2 separate regions of the Homo sapiens genome follow, and region 2 is linked to region 1. The links are contacts of gene promoters, found by promoter capture Hi-C in blood cells and fetal thymus (Javierre and others, 2016). All regions are on one chromosome and are shown on one strand. The core of a region is centred on a gene start or on the middle of the fragment in contact, and the rest is flanking DNA. Distances in the headings are between cores, read along the strand shown.

Region 1 (6,009 bases), core at 895-3,394:
CTGCAACAGCTTGGAGGTATTTTAATGAATGCATTACTTATGGTTAAAAAAATTTTTTTTTTAAGTACTGGCTGGGCGAGGTGGCTCACACCTGTAATTCCAGCACTTTGGGAGGCCGAGGTGGGCAGATCGCTTGGGTCTAGTAGTTGGAGACCAGCCTGGGCAATGTGGCAAAATCTGGTCTCTACTAAAAATACAAAAAATTAGTCGGGTGTAATGGTGCACACCTGTAGTCCGAGCTACTGTAGTGGTGGTGGGGGAAGAGGGGGTTGAAGCAGGAGGATCACCTGAGCCAGGGAGGTGGAGGCTGCAGGGAGCACTGATCGATCGTGCCACTGCACTCCAGCCTGGGCGACAGAGACCCTGTCTCACCTGTCTCAAAACAAAAACAAAACCCAGGTACTTAAAGATACGCTTATATGATTGGGAAAGGTCTTCAAGGTCGTCTAGTTTAAACCGACCTCTTCCGAAGCTGTAAACTTAATGACTTAATCCCTTTAACTTTGTTAAATTTCATATCACCTGGAGTTTTCTGTCACGCTAAAAGATATTTCCAAACAGGTGTCTGATATCCTAGCAATCAAGTCACATTTAAAGATCAGGAGGAAAACAATGTAACAGCTTTTTAAGTGGCAGCCAGGTTACTCAAAAGTGTGGATCAATTCCTGACAAAACCTGAATTACCATATTAACAAGATCTAAAATCCAGTAGCAGAAATAACAGAGAGCAAGAATAAACTTCTCTAGGTGCCCATTCATCCCCAAATCTTTACTGATTGCTAATCTTTCTGCAGAGCTGAAGTCGATTCCTTTAAAGATCCTTAATATTCCGGTCCTCGCCCCACCTCCCATCAGAGGGGTAGGTCTTAACATTATCTCATTTGCTACAAAGTAGTATTCAGTGGGCTTTTAAAATTTTATGAAGAGCGTTGAAATGCACTATCGAAAAATTTAAAGCTCTATGTATTCAGAAATTGACAGTACTTTAAACAAAACCGAAAAAAAACCTAGATATCCCTTCATCTTCCTTAAAGATGACCTCTCCGCGCTCTCTCCAACAATTTTCCCCATCAACGTTGCCAAGACACTTATCCATTGTATGAAGGACCTAGTTTTACGTTTACTGGTTACCTACCGTTTCCATGACACTGGGCTAGGAGCTAGGACAAATATACAAAAAGGCCTAAAATAAGCATCATATTTCTCTCCGAATTCCCAACACCCGGCAGTGCAGTAAATATTTAACGGGTTACTTTAAGGGATAAACCGTTTGCTATTAAAACCTATGAGGTGAGGGCTGAGGAAGGGAACGGCATTTGATGGGGAGACGAGGTAAGAAGAACGAGGTATTAATATCCGACATCAAAATGGGCTTCTAGGTCTCAACGTCTTAGACCTCACCACCAGAGCCAGTACCAAATTACACCCGTGGCACAATTTTCGGCTCAATACTGTTCTCGGTTTACCCTTACTAGTGCAGCTAAAGTTAACTCTCAACAGCACATTGTAAAAATCATCCAGGCAGGAAAAATCTGTACAAACGTGCACGAACATTTCGACATTGTCACGGGAACATTTAGAACCCAAAACAGGGAGAGTCTTGCCGTCTCTATACTGAGTACAAAGGCCCGAGAAAGCACTCTCATCGGCCCCCCAAAACGCACGTACGAAATCCCTTGACTAAGCTCTTTCACTCCTCGACCCTCTCAGAATTTCCTTCCTCAATCCCCCTTCCTACGCAGGTCTCCGGCTCTCAGCGTGTGGGCCTCTTCAAACCTTCTGACCCTCATAAAGATTAAGGGAGGCATTTCCCACTCATTCTTCTGGTTTCTTCCCTGGGCTCTCCCGCTGCAGGCCACCTCAGGCGCGTCCTCCTCCAACCACCCTTCCCGGCCTACTCCAGGCTTTAGTAGGCCTCAACCCTCAGCCACTCCGCCATTATTATTTACATCGTCGTCTGGGGAGGCTGAACGCTTCACCCCATGCGGGTGAGACTCTCTGGCAGCACTCATCCTTGCGGGGATCCCGACGAAAAATGCCGAACCCTCTCGCCGCTCTTCCCAGCCGCAAAACCAGCAGCTTACAATCCGCCAAGGGCCCAAGCAGCGCCACTACAGAACGCAGAGCCCCTCCGGGCCTTCTCTGCCACAGTCGTCACCGTTGCGGCCCCTCGCCGCCCCGGGGCACTTTGGGAGTTGTAGTTTTCTGATTCATTGCATACTGGCCCGAATAAAAAAGATGTGTCCGTGACTAAAACTACAATTCCCAGGAAGCCCCGAGGCTCAATTCGCGCTGTGTGGCGGGAGTGCCCTCAGAGGCCCCGCCTTCGGCTGGTGGAGGAAGCGTTCCCGCGGATGTGTATGGCGGTGAGCGTTGGCCGAGAGCTTTGTCGCCACAGGAGGAGGCTTAGAGGGGTTTTTGCCTTTCACCGTGCAACGCTGCCCTACTGGCAAATGTATCATCGTAGCTAGGCACCTATGTTTAAATGTAATGTTTGAGGCTGACTGAATCCTCACGAATACCCTCCACCCAGGACAAAAACCTTAACCAAAAATGGCTTCTACCATTTCCACCCTGGTGTTCTCTATTGCGCGCAGGGGATTTCTAGGTGGTCGGTGATGCTGCTTTCTAAATGTTTTCATGAATATTTCGCTGTTTTCCCATACAGAAATGAGTTCAGTATGTTGTTAAATGTTGGCTAATTGGCGGTTGTTGAAAACGGGGATTTAGCTGAGGGAAATCTGTTAAGTTTTCATATGGCTTTGTGTGAGGTGGGAGTGCTCCTCACTGACCTCGCTGTGGATGTCTGGGCACCGTTACAGTAGGGGCCTTCACCAAGCAAAGTCCATCCCTGCCACAAAAGCCTCTATTTTTTTTCTTTTTTAAAAAAAGTAATTATTGAGGTTAAATTCACATATAAAATTAACCATTTTTTAAAAAGTGTACAATCCACTGTCACTTAGTACATTCACAATCGTGTGCAGCTGTCACCTCTGATTCCAAGAAGTTTCACCACTCCAAAAGGAACCCCAATGCCCGTTAGCAATCCCTCCCCATTTCTCGCCCTCTCTCCAGATTCAAGTGATCACTCCTCTACTCAAAAAGCCCTGCATTTAAAGCTATTTATTGTTCAGATACTGAAGACTATCTCCTACTTTATTAAGGTGTCTGAATTTGTAACCAGGTCTGAACTTAACTTTCTGTCAGAATCCTTGTCCTTAATAATTCTGAAGCTTTCTCACCTTGAATACAAATGTGATTTTTTTTTTTTTTAAGCAAAAATTAGGCCTGGCGCCATGGCTCAGGCCTGTAATCCCCAGCATTTTGGGAGGCTGAGGCGGGTGGATCACGAGGTCAGGAGTTCGAGACCAGCCTGATCAACATGGTGAAACCACGTCTCTACTAAAAATACAAAAATTAGCCTGGCATGATGGCACATGCCTCTAATCCCAGCTACTCGGGAGGCTGAGGCAGGAGAATCGCTTGAACCCGGGAGGCGGAGGTTTCAGCGACCCAAGATGGCGCCACTGCACTCCAGCCTGGGTGACAGAACGAGACTCGGTCTCTAAATAAATAAATAAATAAATAATAAGTGGTATGGATAATACATATCTGCTGTTTCAGAACTGAGAGCAGTCTGTGAAACAATGCTTAGCTATTAGCTTTTGAACTCAGCAATTGCTCTAGTTTCACTGCCTGTGTACAAATATTACTTACCTAGATTTCAGATCCTCACTGAACTGTGACCAGTGGAAGGTAGTTTTTAAATTTATGCAGTCATAGATTCAAATTCTCCCTTATTTTGGAAGCAGAAAAATAGCATAATAGTAAGTACTATAATAGAAAAAGAGATGTCAGGGTTACATTTTATAAGTATAACCAAACAAAGAACATCTTAATGGTTCTGTGGTAAGAATAAATCATAAAGGAGGAGGAGAGTAAACCCAAGAGAAAAAAAAGAAACATTGTTTTAGGAAGTGGTTGATTGCTTTTTGCTAGAATTAAAATATTTTCACTACTACATAATTCTACTTAGGTTCTATTAGTTACAATGAAATTACATTTAAGTTACAGAGTTTTGCAGTTTCGACTACAGTTCACCTCTAATGGGTTTGACAAATGGTGATTTAGAACTATTAGCTATATTACCAAAACAAATAAGATGGCTGAATAGGTACTTTAGACTGCTAAAAGATTTCTGAAATAAGAAAGGATTGTCAATAAGAATAGTAGTTACTATATAATTTTAATTTTACTAGTTGGTGAAAGTCCAGAAAACTTTAATGAGCTAGCAACATGTCTTTTATTTCTTCACCAGAATTGTTGGCACCTGGATGGTAAATCTTCAAGTTACTGTGAAACAAGATCACAAACGAAAAAGTAACATAGGAAATACTAAAGACTGGGACATTTTATCAGATTTTACTCAGTTTCATATACAGAAGGCTATAGGTAAGGATGAAATTATACAGTGTAATAGAATGCATATATGCCACAGAAACTCAGTAATGCTCCTCTTTCTTGTATTGTAAAAACAAAGATACACTATCATGAGTGAAACAATGAAATACCTCCTTCAGAATTGGGACTGTTGCATCTGCATTTTTGTTTCTGGCGCAATGCCTGCCACACGGTAGTTAATAAATGTTTCTGAATTAATATAGGAAGGATGAAATTATATAGTACCAGAGTGGTATCTTATATGAGGCCTAGAAACTCAGCAATGTTCTTCTTTCTTGGGTAGTAAAGACAAGGAGAGGAGGCCCTGTCACTGAGAACTTTACATTTTTTTAAATTTTCCCAACATTTAGCATGTAGTGGGCAGTCACAGATGTTTGTCGAGTACGTGCTCTCAACCAGGGATAGTCATGATTGACCATAGTTAAAACTGAAGAGGAAATAAAGGCTTTGAAGATTATGCTGTGTACAAAAAATCTGCTGTTTCACTTGAGACTAAAAAAAAAAATTCCTAGGGCCTTAATTACAGTTACCATTTATTAAATACCCACCATGTACCATATACTTTGCTAGGTGCTTTTTATAGGTGATTTTTACAATTGACCTCAAAGTTTCACAATAATTTGCAAGAAGTAGGGAATTTTATAGGTAATTAAACTTAAGAAAAGTTAAATACTTGCTTAAAATAATGTAGCTAGTGAATGATTCAGTCCTTAAGTCTAATTCCAAAAGCCAGTGCACTTTCCACTGTGCCAATATAACCCAACATTAAATAAGATGCTTCATATATGTCAGGAAGTGTGCCAAGTTTGAGGAAAACCAGAGTGAATAATGCATAATCCTTTACTGCAAAGAGTTTACAGCTTGGCAGGAGAATGATTAAATGGCATCAGTAAATTACAAATAAAATGCTGTAGAACAGTTCATTTTGGCTGAGGGAAATTGGAAAATTATTTCCCAAAAGTTTTTGAGCTAGGCCTTGAAAAAACAGTTTGGGCAGGATGGGGCATATATTCAGTGATGGTTAGTGTCCAGTGTGCTGAAACCTGATAAGCCTAAAAGTATTGTATTCTGAGACAAAATTCTATAGGCTGATCAAAGCCGGGCTGTGAAAAGCCTTGAGTTTAACTCTCTCACTATATGGGTTCAGATTAAGATAATCTCTTCCATAGATCTGTGTGACCTGTTTTCTAATACTTCTCCATTTAAATTCATTTTATGCATTCTAGGCAGATTCAGCCTCTGAAAATGGAATGTAGAGATTCTACTGCTCAAAAACTTCTTGGAGCTCCCCATTTTATACAGAATTAAGTTGATAGAATTAAGCCTATAATTAAAATAAGAATTCAGTTCTTGAGGTCAGAATAAGGTCGATATTCTGATCTCAATAATCCATTCCAGTCTTATTTTCTACTATTATCTTTAACTTATCTTGATTAGCCCACCACAACAAAAATAAGTGCTATAATAAAGGTATTGAACAAAGATACTAGTCTTGTTGACTGTTCTAGACTCTCAGCTGCTTTTGGGTAGGATCTAAGCTTAGCACCA
Region 2 (6,332 bases), core at 1,206-3,705, about 11 Mb after region 1:
TATGTCTACTCTCCAGCCCCTAAACTCCAACAGGGAAGGAGTTAAATTGAGACCTAATCAAATGACTTCTATGCTTGTTAATTCTAGCACAGCAAAGAGGAAGGGGTCTCCTTGTGATAGAGCCCAGGGTCCTGCCCAGATTCCTGTCTAATTATCCCTTAGGAGGTGTCTCCTCCTGCCTTCCAGGCGGTTCTCTCTTGTCTGATGTCATCTTCCAGCTTCTCAGCCTCTTGATCCTCCTTTATCAGCCTCTGCAGGGCTACCTGCAGCTTTTCCTGTAAGAAATAAATTATACCAGAGTAAAGTTATGAGCTTTCTCAGCACCTGAATAGAGGACAGCAAGGAAGAAATTGGATGGCTCTCAGAAGAAACTAGTTTACAGAAACAGTGAGGCTGGTGATTAGAACCTATGGCATGGGGGAAAATCTGAGGAGATGAATGTATTCTTTATTCCTGGATGATGGAAGTCACCATCCTCTTATCAAGAGTAGCCTGATTCTTTTCCTAGAGAAAAAGCAGACCCTGCAGTAAGGAAAGACGTCCTTTCATTGCCACTCTTCCCACATCTAACCAGACGTGTTCCCAAAAATACTGTTCTTCTTGGAGGGGCAATGAAAGCTTATCTTACAAAGCAATTCTCCATTCATTCAACTTTTCCTTGCTAAAAATTTGTACTCTTTTTTAAATAAAACAATGTGCAGCAGTGTCCTTCAGGCATCAGAAACTAAGCAAAGAGTATGGAAAGAGATCACAGGGCTCTCCGTTCTATGGTGACAAGGGGAATAAAGCAGGACAAAAAAAGTGGAGATTTCACATTAGGTACCATCTTCTGCTCTCTGCTCTCTCTTCCTCTATCTTGGAGCCTACCTGACATTCCTTGACCACCTCGTTTATGCGGAATGTTTGGTGACCTTGGTGTTCCTGAGACAGTTCACAAACCCAGCAAATGACTTTTCCATCCTCCTTACAGAAGATCTGGAGTTTTTTTCCATGGTGCTCACAGACATCTCTCTTCTGCCCCTCCTGTGGGCTCATCTTGACCTCTTTGACTCTCTCAACTATGTTGGCCAGATGCCGATTAGGTCGGAGGTTCCCAGGCTGGAATCTGGTCTGACACACAGGACAGCTGCTTTCCCCTCTTGAGATGATCACTGACTCCTTGATCTTTGCAGTGATGCAGGCTTGGCAGAAGCTGTGGCCACAATCTAGGCTCAGAGGTTCTGTCAGGAGCTCCAGGCAGATGGGGCAGGTCACCTCCTTCTCTATGTCTACCTTTACTGAGAAATCCATTGCACTGCTCCCTTGGCTTCCTTCTGTCTTGACTCTTGAAGTTCTTGGTCACAAACTCCTGCAGTGCTGAGAATGTTGAAGGGGACAGGGTAAGAAAAGAAGGAATAGAAAGAATACTGCTTTTACAGAGATTTAGAACAGGACAAAACATTAATATTTAACAGAGAAAGGAGAAAAGAAAGGCATGAAGAATAAACCAATGACAGAATAAAATGGACTTTGTAGTAATTTCAAACACTTTATTCTTAATTTTTGTCTCAGGACAAATTTCACCCCATCAAGGCAATTATTGTTATTTTCTCTTCTACTGGAGAGGACAAACTGAGGCTCTTCTACCAAGAGCTTCGTGTAACCCATCATTTGTCCTGCCTTTTGTTCCCCAACCCAAAACACATTTTCCATGTTAAATGCACTAAACACACCCCTGCCCCTGGGCTTGCACACAGGCTTTTCTCTCTGAATGGCATGATTGTATCCCCAATATTTGCATGATTCATGAATATTTGCATATTTTTAAGCTATTGAATTGTATTTACATAGCATCAAACACTGCATCAAACATCATTTTTAAGTGTATCATGCAATAATTTCTAGTAAATCTGTGGAACTATATAACTATTACTGTAACCCAATTTAAAATTATTTTTATCACCTGAAAAAAAAAAACCCTAATGCCATCACTCCTATTCTGATCCCAAGCTCCAGGCAACCACTACTAATATCCTTTGGGTTTTTAATCAGTTGATAAAAATAGAATCATAATATATGTCTTTGGTGTCTGAATTATTTTACTTATACTGTTAAGGTTTATCTCCTCTGACTTTTTTCCCCATGTAAAAAATACCTCCTCAATTAAACTATCAAATCTATGGCTCCTCAAGGCTTTTGCACTTGCTCCTCTCTCTGCATAAAATGATCCTCCCCCTGATGTTAGCAAGACTCACTCTTACATTTAATTCAGTCTCCTCTTAGAAGTCCTCTTCTTAGAAGGACATACTATAATTTACTTATAGCAAAACCACCAGTACTGTCACTCACTGCACATTTAGCTTCTTATTTTTACTATGTAATATATAAGATTGTTCTTTAAATGTCTACTTCTTCCTCCTGAAAAGTAATCCATTCATAGACCTGGGACTTTTTTTGTTCACTGATATGTCCTCTATACCTAGAAAAGTGAATCACATACAGGAATAAAACATTTAACGAATATATAAAGCCACAACTTCCTTATCCCTCCATAGATGATTAGACCTTTTAATCAGATTTTCATCTTTTCTTTCCATCAATTAGCAGTTTCCCAATAGCTGACCTTTGGGACCACAATTATGGTTTCCAGTGAAGAAGTGTTTACATCCTAACACATCTACCCATAGCAAGTCCTCCCATGACCTCACACTCCATCCCCAAAGACATACACACACACCCACACACCACCACCACCAACACCATAATAGGAAAATAATTTTATCATGAACAATTTTATAAGCAGTTACAATTTAGAAATCATTTTGACTTCTTTATTCTTCATACAAAACCCTTGAGAAATAAGAATACTCCCTTTCTTCAGGTGTGTCAATAGAATCAAGTGACTTACAAAGATCACTCATTCTAATCTAATAGGTAGAGTAAGAGTGAATGTATTGTCCCCAAGGTCCTCCTTCAGAGTTCTCTCCACTGCAGCACAGATTTATACAGACAACAAAGGTAAAGGCTACAAGAGCTATACTGATACCCAGTGCTATTGGGGGTATAGAAATGGAGAGATCCAGACCAGCTATGTAGTTCTGGGGCATGCTGTGGTTTTAAATGTTGAAATTTCACCTTGGCCTGGACATATGGCAAGGATGGTGATAGGAACCTAAAGATGTATATATTTTGGGAAGAGGAAAAGAGGCTAAAATAGTTATAGGATCACACACATGATATAGACTCAATATACATTTCAAAGAAACATCTGTTGGTCATGGGAGAAAAGTCTCAATCCATAAAGGAGGCCAAGTACATTGAGAATATGTAGCAGAGAGATAAAGTCTGTCCTGTTTCTCCCCAAATGATGTTGAAATCCTAATGTGTGAATGTGCTCTTATTTGAAACTAGTATATTTAAATACTATTTAGTTACCATGTGCTCATTAGGGTAGACCCTTATCCAACATGACTGTGTCCTTATCAAAAAGGGACATTTATACACAAGGAATATGCCAGGGTGAAGAAGAAAGCAGAGATCAGGGTGATGCACCTATAAGCCAAGGAATGCTAAAGGTTTCCAGGAAACTATTAGAAGCTAGAAGAGAGGCATGGACCAGAGGCCTCCTTCATAGCCTTCAGAAGGAACCAGCCCTGTCAACACATTTTATCTTGGATAACTAGCCTCCAGAATTGTAAGGCAATATATTTCTGCTATTTAAGCCAACCACTTTTGGTACTTTTTCTATGACAGCTCTAGAAAACTAATACAAGTGCTTATTTTTCTTGATTTATTCATTCTTTTTTTTTTTTTTTTTTTTTTGAGACGGAGTCTCACTCTGTCACCCAGGCTGGAGTGCAGTGGTGCGATCTCGGCTCCTTGCCAGCTCCGCCTCTCGGGTTCACGCCATTCTCCTGCCTCAGCCTCCAAGTAGCTGGGACTACAGGCGCCCGCCACCACACCCGGGTGATTTTTTGGTGTCTTTTTAGTAGAGACGGGGTTTCACTGTGTTAGCCAGGATGGTCTCGATCTCCGGACCTCATGATCTGCCCGCCTCGGCCTCCCAAAGTGCTGGGATTACTGGCGTGAGCCACCGCGCCCGGCCTATTCATTCTTTATTCTAACATTGAAGAAATGTAGCCCCATTGAAACCCTTCCGACCTAAGACAGGTAGACAGACAGACACATAAACAAAATGCATGCTCCCCTTTGAAGGTGGTGCGAATGTAGAAGTTTCTATGACACGGTGAAGGCTAACTAGGTCCGTAGCTTCCTTGTTTCAGAATACTCTGATTACCTGCACAGAAGCTTTCTTTATCTGTGCAATTTAAATCAAAAAAAAAAAAAAAAAAAAGATGGCCAGGCGCTGTGGCTCAAGCCTGTAATCCCAGCAGTTTGGGGGGCCGAGGCGGGCAGATTACCTGAGGTCAGGAGTTTGAGGCCAGCCTGGCCACTATGGTGAGACCCCGTATCTACTAAAAAATATATATATATACAAACATTAGCCAGGTGTGACAGCAGTTGCTTGTAGTCCCCGCTACTCTGGAGGCTGAGGCAGGAGAATCACTTGAACCCAGGAGGCGGAGGTTGCAGTGAGCTGAGATCACACCACTGCACTCCAGCCTGGCAACAGAGCAAGACTCCGTCAAAAGAAAAAAAAAAAAAAAGATTAAATTAAATTAGTGTGGCTACACAATAAGGAGAAAAATTATAAGGGGTTTAGCCATCAATATCTTTTTTTTTTTTTTTTGAGACAAGGTCTCACTGCGTTGCCCAGGCTGGTCTCAAACTCCTCAACTCAAGCAGTCCTCCAGTCTTGGCTTCCCAAAGTGCTGGGATTTTTGGCTAGGCTTTGGCACAAGCCACCAGGTGCCTGGCCTAGCCAACATCTTTTAAATTTCCCCTGTTCCTTGGGTCAGGAACTACCAATGGAGAAAATAGGTCCTGTTCTTGGCATGCAGAAACCTGGAGAACTCAGAAACACCGTTACCACTTCTTATTTGTCTAAACTCAGAGTTCCTTTTTCAATGACCCACTAAAATGTCCAGGGTTTAGTTTTCCCCAAGTAATGACCCTTTTTCCAAGAGTTCTAACTCTCTGGTCAATATGTTTCAGATAAGTCATTTTGTAACAGAGGACAGATTTCATAAAGCTACCCCAGTGTCATCTCTTTCTCTCACAGTTAGTTCATCAGTTCTTAAATCCATCATTTTATTGAAGACTGCTCAAAATCATTGTCTCACAGTGAGACCTAATGTGAAATCTATTTAAAGTTGCAAAGCCCTTGACAAGAGCACTACAGATACCACATCCTATTGCAGCCCTTTTAGTTTGTTGCTTTTGTTTTATTGGTTTTACATTTATCCTCTAGTAACTGCTACCTTTTTGCTACATTAAAACTGCTGGTTTACTTCCTTTTTTTGACTGCGTGTTTACTTCCTTTTCCCTAGTCCAGAGCATAATCTCTTACCGGTATTTAATGTTGATTATATATCGAATAGATAGTTTTTTTGTTTTTGTTTTTGTTTTTTTACTATACCTGTATGCTTTTGTTTTGTGAATTTAGTCAAAAATATTTTTCAAAAATTAAAAGTACAGTTTTATTTATTGGGTCCTGTACTAGACTTGACAATGAATAAATACTAGATATGGACCTTGACAAGATGTGCGGTACAGACACATAAGGAGACAGTTACCTGGACCTCTGAAAAGTGAAACAAAGAAAAGGACACATCAGAATATGGGTGACATAGGCATCAAGGTACAAAATGCTCAGCGATAAGATCGAGATAAGACTCAGGAGAAATTACCAACTCCTTGCCTTAGCTCTGTGCAAGGGAAAATTGAGTAGGGAGTTGAGGTAACTCATGATGAAAAGGTGTACCTAGAATAATAGCAACTTCTAAAACAGGAGTGGATACCAGAGGTTCATTGGGTGCTACAGAAGTTGAGGGAGGAGACCACCTCTCATATTGTCTTATGCCCAATTTCTGCCTCCAAAGAAAGAAAAAGTAAAAACTAAAAGGCAGAAATGAAATCCACAAGCAGACAGCCCGGGGCCACACCCTGGACCTGGTAGTTAAAGATGGACCCCTGACCTAATTGGTTTGTTATCTATAGATTCCAGACATTGTATAGAAAAGCACTGTGAAAATCCCTACTCTGTTTTGTTCCGATCTAATTACCGGTGTATGCAGCCCCCAGTCACGTACCCCCTGCTTGCTCAATCGATCACGACCCTCTCACGCGGACCCCCTTAGAGTTGTGAGCCCTTAAAAGGGACAGGAATTGCTCACTCGAGGAGCTCGGCTCTTGAGACAGGAGTCTTGCCTATGCCCCTGGCCGAATAAACC

Evidence for each region. Contacts are between HindIII fragments. The CHiCAGO score rates a contact against its expected background, and 5 or more counts as called.
Region 2: a fragment that was not itself captured here is called in contact with the fragment with the promoter of C11orf58 in region 1 in 1 of 17 cell types (M0 macrophages); the score reaches 6.8 in M0 macrophages.

The regions. Positions count from the first base shown.
Region 1 is chr11:16,734,782-16,740,790 of GRCh38, reverse strand. C11orf58 (chromosome 11 open reading frame 58) reads right to left here and starts at 2,144. Exons shown (of 5, transcript NM_014267.6): 1 at 1,950-2,144. The coding sequence starts at 2,012. It also overlaps a transcript of SOX6 not described here. RefSeq lists an enhancer at 1,641-2,270. The HindIII fragment of the contact is 4,072 bases long and covers 1-3,235 here.
Region 2 is chr11:5,691,191-5,697,522 of GRCh38, reverse strand. It overlaps TRIM22 (tripartite motif containing 22), which reads right to left. Exons shown (of 8, transcript NM_006074.5): 2 at 868-1,356; 3 at 180-275. The coding sequence starts at 1,290. LOC124902620 (a long non-coding RNA gene) reads left to right here and starts at 4,769. Exons shown (of 2, transcript XR_007062561.1): 1 at 4,769-6,332. The HindIII fragment of the contact is 3,669 bases long and covers 621-4,289 here.